Regions from separate parts of the Homo sapiens genome. Here region 2 is linked to region 1. The links are contacts of gene promoters, found by promoter capture Hi-C in human tissues and cell types (Jung and others, 2019). All regions are on one chromosome and are shown on one strand. Each heading gives the region's core, a stretch centred on a gene start or on the middle of the fragment in contact. The rest is flanking DNA. Distances are from core to core; before and after follow the strand shown.

Region 1 (2,924 bases), core at 317-2,816:
TGGTGAGATCATGCTCACTGCAGTCTCAAACTCCTGGGCTCAAGCAATCCTCATGCCTCCGCCTCCTGTGAGACTACAGGTGTACGCCACCACACCTGGGTAATTTTCAAAATCTTTTTGTAGAGACAGGGTCTCATTACATTGCCCTGGCTGGTCTGGAATTCCTGGGCTTCAGCAGTCCTCCCGCCTCGGCCTCCCAAAGTAGAAATATCAGTATTGTTGTGGTTAGCCACCATTTATTGAGCACCTACTGTTGCTCAGCCCTGTGCTAGGGATTTCACATATGTTATTACGGCCTTTTATGAGGTGGGCAATATTACCCCTATTTCACAAATGAGGAAAGAGGTTTAAAGGGCTCAAGTGACTGGTACAGAAACCAAGTCTGTTTGGCTCCAAAGTCCAGGCCCTACCCCCCTGCCATGACCCAGAAGCTTGCAGGGCACTGAGCTTGCAGGGCATTGAGAAAGAGGAAGTGAATTGCTAGCTAATGAAGGCCAAAAGGGCCTGGAACCCAGACCTCCTGCTTCCCGGAGTTCCCTTCATCAAGCATCAGGCGAACAGCCCCTCTCACCTGAAGGGTCCAAAGCAATGGCCTCATAATCTAGTGCCTTACAGAGTGAGGCCGACAGCTATTATTACCCCCATTGCCAGATAAATCAACTATGGCCCAAGGAAGGAAAACCTCTGCCTGGGAATCCAGCATCTCAGTGGTCAGGAGGAGAGGCCAGGAGCCACTGACCCTAAGAGGCAGGGTCCAGTGAGACAGGAAGGGACCAGGCACCAGGGTTGCTGGAGCCACGAGGCGACGTCCCCTTTTTCCTGGCTCTTTCCACATGCCACAGTCAAGGACAAGAACACTTAGGGGCTGAGCTTTATTCTATAAACAGGGACAATTGCTCTAGCAGGAGAAGGGATGTGGTGTGGGGTGGGACCTGACAGGAGGACACGTGGTAAGAAGGAAGGAAGAGTTGGAAGGCTGAAGGCTTGGGAGCCACTTTTCCTGGCCAGGCAGGCATCACTGTGAGGTGAGGGCAGAGCCACTCTACCCCTAGTAGTGTGGGTTGGTGGGTTTGCCACAAGGGCTGCCTGCGGATACTGGTGAGTCCTGGTAAAGGTGACTGCTGGGCTCCAGATGATGCGCCCGGGAGGGCTGGGGGTGCAGGCTTCCTAGGTAATTTTCAAAATTGCTTCCTGGAGGGCGATTCCCAGCAGGGTGGCCCGAGGCAGGTCTGGCGCCCCCACTCTCTCCTTTGGAGGCTAGGAGGACCGGAGTCCCCGAGGTCCCACTCACCTCCGAGGCCATGTTGGGCGGTTCCTCGTCGTCCGGAAGCTTCGGTCCTCCGGGTCTGGAAGACAAGACCGGACTGACGACCTCCTTGGCCAGCAGGGTCCCCCGGGCCGGGCTGGCTCCGAGTTCTGGGCACTGCGCTTGAGGGAGCGCAGCCCTTGGGGACGCGGACGTGAGCGCGCGCCACGGTGCTCGGCGTCCTCCACGCCCGTCCCGCCCATCCGGCCGCCGCGCACTCACCTCCGCCTGGCCGCACGGATAGTGTCGCGCCCGCCACTGGCCAGGGCTTTTCTGGCCGGGATGGCGTCAGCAGCCGCCGGTCCTGTCCCCACCCCTGGCGACGGCCGCGCCAATAGGAGGCCGCCCGGCGGGGTGGGCGTTGCCTCCATCCTCCAATCCTGGCCGTGGGCGGGGATACCTCCCGCTGAGCTGGAGGCTAAGCGGCCCCGGGGCGGGGAAGCGGGCGGGGAAAGGGTTGGGGGGACCCCGACGGGGAAGGGGCCTGGGCTGGGGTTGAGGAGGGTAGTGCGCTGGCGTTCGTGCTGTGGTCAGCAGACACGCAGGGGACTGGAGACTCGGGCCAGGGGTAGAGGCTATGACATCAGGCCCGGGCCTGGCAGGTTCACAAGATATATAAGGTGAAATGGCATGTTCGCTCATTCACTCATTCATTCATTCATTCAACAAACACGTACCAGGCACCTCTATGTGCCAGGTACAGAGAAAGGCATCAAGGAAAAAGGAAGGACCATCAGAAATGAAGCCTGTGCCAGGCGCGGTGGCTCACAGCTGTAATCCCAGCACTTTGGGAGGCCGAGGTGGGAGGATCGCTTGAGGCTACGAGTTGGAGACCAGCCTGGGCAATACAACAAGATCCCGTCTCTACAAAAAAATTAATAATAATAAAAAAAAAGCCGGGCGTGGTGGTGCACGCCTGCAGTCCTAGCTACTCAGGAGGCTGAGGCGGGAGGAGCACTTGAGCCCAGGAGTTCGAAGCTGCAGTGAGCTATTGTGCCACGGCACTCCAGCCTGACTCCTCTAAAAAAGAAAAGAAACGCGGCCGGAGGCCGGGCGCGGTGGCTCACGCCTGTAATCCCAGCACTTTGGAAGGCCGAGGCGGGTGGATCACGAGGTCAGGAGTTTGAGACCAGCCTGGCCAAGGTGGTGAAACCCCGTCTCTACTAAGAATACAAAAATTAGCCGGGCACGGTGGCGGGTGCCTGCAATCCCAGCGACTCCGGAGGCTGAGGCAGGAGAATCTCTTGAACCCGGGAGGCGGAGATTGCAGTGAGCTGAGATGGTGCCATTGCACTCCAGCCTGGGTGACAGAGCAAGATTCTGTCTCAAAAAAAAAAAAAAAAAAAAAAAGAAAGAAAGAAAGAAAGAAAGAAAAGAAAAGAAAAAAGAAACGCAGCCGGGCACAGTGGCTTACGCCTTTAATCCCAGCACTTTGAGAGGCTGAGGCGGGCGGATCACCTGAGGTCAGGAATTCGAGATGAGCCTGGCTGACATGGTGAAACCTTGTCTCTATTAGCCGGGTGTGGTGGTGGGTGCCTGTAGTCCCAGCTACTCCGACAGCTGAGGCAGGAGAATCACTTGAACCAGGGAGGTGGAGGCTGCAGTGAGCTGAGACGGC
Region 2 (2,924 bases), core at 200-2,699, 300 kb after region 1:
ATAAAACTTAGCCAGACATGGTGGCAGGTGCCTGTAGTCCCAGCTACTCAGGAGGTTGAGGCAGGAGAATCACTTGAACCCAGGAGGCGGACGTTGCAGTGAGCCGAGGCCATGCCACTGCCAGCCTGGGTGACAGAGCAAGACTCCGTCTCAAAAAAGAAAAAAAAAAAAGATTAAGTAAGAGGGACACCAGACCTTAAAAATACAAGTTTAAGAGGGACCCTGACTCAGCGTGGTGGCTCATGCCTGGGACTTTGGGAGGCCGAGGCGGGCGGGTCACGAAGTCAAGGGATCTAGACCATCCTGGCCAACATGGTGAAACCCTATCTCTACTAAAAATACAAAAAATTAGCTGAGAGTGGTAGGTGCGCATCTGTAGTCCCAGCTACTCAGGAGGCTGAGGCAGGAGAATTGCGTGAACCCAGCAGGCGGAGGTTGCAGTGAGCTGAGGTTGGGCCACTGCACTCCAGCCTGGGCAACAGAGCAAGACTCTATTGAGGCAAGGTTTCTCATTCTCAGGTCCGAGGGGTTCAATAACTGGGCCCTTAGGGAGGTGTGAGCCCCCTGAAACGATGCAAGGTTTTGTGTGGAGAGTGTGCACATGCGTTTCCGGGAAAACAGCCCACAGTTCTCATTCTCAGCAGGCTCCACACTCAAAAAAGGTTAGACTCTTGCTACAGAGCTGTGGGAGCAGCTAGGTGAGGGGCCTGCCAAGGGCACTCTGGGGACTACCTGGGCAGTCTTGAGCCCACCTGGGCAGTCCTGAGCCCACTGTCCCCTAGGCAGGCTGCGCTGCTTGGTATTTGCAGAGCTGAGGGGGTGGGGCATGCGGGACTGTGAAATCGCCCTGAGATGACCCACAGCACTCAGCTGGGAAGTGAGGGGTGTGTATCCTGCAGCATCCTCCATCCCTAGGGCCATGGGGCCAGGAGAACTGACCCTTGCAGCAAGTGAAAAGCCTATCATTGACTCCCTCCCTGGCCATGCAGACAATGAACCAAAGGCACTCAAATCAAGTAAATGCCTTGGTCTCTGTGACCGACGTGACCAGTAGGCATTCCCAGGTGCAGGGAAGGTCCTGACACCAAGATATGCACCTGGTTGCCTGAGGAAAGCGAAAGGACTATCCAAGGGGTTGGGGCTGAGCTGGGTGTGGAGTGGTCCTTGTGGGTCATGGTGAGTGGGAGGGGGAGCAGCATGAGCCAGGCCTCGGGGCAGGAGGACAACCAGGAGATGGCCTGGAAAAAGTGCTGGACCCACGAGGGTTCAAGGCTGGCCAGAGAGGGAGGTGGGATAGGCTGGGAAGTCCCGAGGTCTGAAGATTGGCCCTGGCAGGCAGAAACCAGGAAAGGTGGGCAGTTACCTGCACCCTGGGGGCCAGATGCATCCTTAGCCTAGAGCAGGTGCCAAGATTTCTGGCTCTGGGTGTGACCTAATTCTGGGGAAAAGCCCCAACCCCCACCAGGACCACCTGCCCCCCAAACTACTTCAGATGCTGAGCCCAAGCCAGGAGCAGGAAGCTGGACTGATGCCTAGGGTAATCCCGACAAAGTCCCTGACTCCCCCCAGCTATGGGGCTGAAGGGGAATTACAGCCCAAACCCCAGATGCTGGCTCTCAAACTAACCCTGAGCCCTCAGTGCCCAAAGGGAGACTCAATCAGCACACTTTCCAGATGGGGAAACGGGCTCAGAGAAGTGCAAGAGCCTTGCCCAGTGCCCCAGACCAGGACTCTAGGCCCAGAGTGTTCTTTTGTCACTGTGTCCAGAGGGTAGCAGCTGCTCTGATATAGCCACCTGAGCCTGGCAACTTTCTCCAACTTTGGAAGCCCAGGAGCATGACCTGTGCCCACAGATGCACCTGGCATGAGGTGCACCCAGAGGGACAGAGGCAGATGAGTTTTGCCTCCTCCACTGGATTGTGAAGGCCTCCAAGGAGACAAGGATCTGCTTGAGAAGGCAGCAGATAGTCAGCAACCTGGGGTGGTTTAACTCTGGATGGATCTGCAGTGCCTGGATGGGACCTGGCTCAGACAGAGCTCAGTTCTGCAGGTCACTGAGGCATGGAAAGGTCACAGCTACCAAGTGTAGGAGTCTGGATTCAAAGCCAACAGCGTGACTCCAAAGTCCCTGCCCTAGCCCCTGGACCACCCACCTCTCGGAGTCACCCTTGCAAGCTCATCAGATGTTCAGGCCAGCAGCACAACCAGCCAGGGCCAGGGAAACTTGGGGAGCCTCATTCCAACATAATCCTTGCACCCTTGCCCCTCACCATCTTTCTTCCTGCGTTAACCTCACCCCCTACACAGAGCCTGGGCCACTTAACTTGGCATCAAACAGATGCCTCAATAAATCAGAGTCTGATCTTCTCGGAAAAAAAAAAAAAAAGACTTAACAGATATACAGTTGCAAGTTAGAATGTTAAAGAACATAAGCATACAACAACTTAATGTACATATAAATTCAATATGTAGCCAATCATTGTGACTATGACACAACAGAATATTAACATACTATTTTCAAAATGTATACAAGCTTAATGATCTATTTATATTCAAAATATGAATCATCAACATAATTTGCCATTAATATCTCATTCAGTCCCTTCACAGGACACATGATCCACTGGGAGTTAACACAATAGCAGCTGGCAGGCAGTGACACACAGCAAAAACGAAAACCAACAGGTGAAATAGTTCTGAAATAAAGAAGGTTTTAAAGCTAAGAGAAACCATTGAATTCCTAAGTCATTAGGACTAATTTTGAGCCAACTAATTAATATGAGATGAAACAATGTCCTATGCTTTGGTAAATTCAAACCATGTTTAAACAATGTCTATAATGGGACTTTCAAAAAGCTCCTGGCTTTACAAAGGTGAGATTATAACATAGTAATACATGCTAAAGCATTTCCCCCTGCAGATGA

Evidence for each region. Contacts are between HindIII fragments. The study calls those that stand out against the background at their distance.
Region 2: a fragment that was not itself captured here is called in contact with the fragment with the promoter of ASL in region 1 in 2 of the 25 tissues and cell types used here (hippocampus and lymphoblastoid cells).

Annotation. Positions count from the first base shown.
Region 1 is chr7:66,074,461-66,077,384 of GRCh38, reverse strand. It overlaps ASL (argininosuccinate lyase), which reads right to left and starts at 1,566. Exons shown (of 17, transcript NM_000048.4): 1 at 1,529-1,566; 2 at 1,292-1,346. The coding sequence starts at 1,303. RefSeq lists an enhancer at 1,016-1,295 and a silencer at 1,396-1,925. The HindIII fragment of the contact is 4,995 bases long and covers 882-2,924 here.
Region 2 is chr7:65,773,813-65,776,736 of GRCh38, reverse strand. It overlaps the pseudogene GTF2IP5. Among named protein-coding and RNA genes, the nearest start is that of LINC03006, 4.5 kb to the right of the region's middle. RefSeq lists enhancers at 346-845, 846-1,347. The HindIII fragment of the contact is 4,143 bases long and covers 1-2,924 here.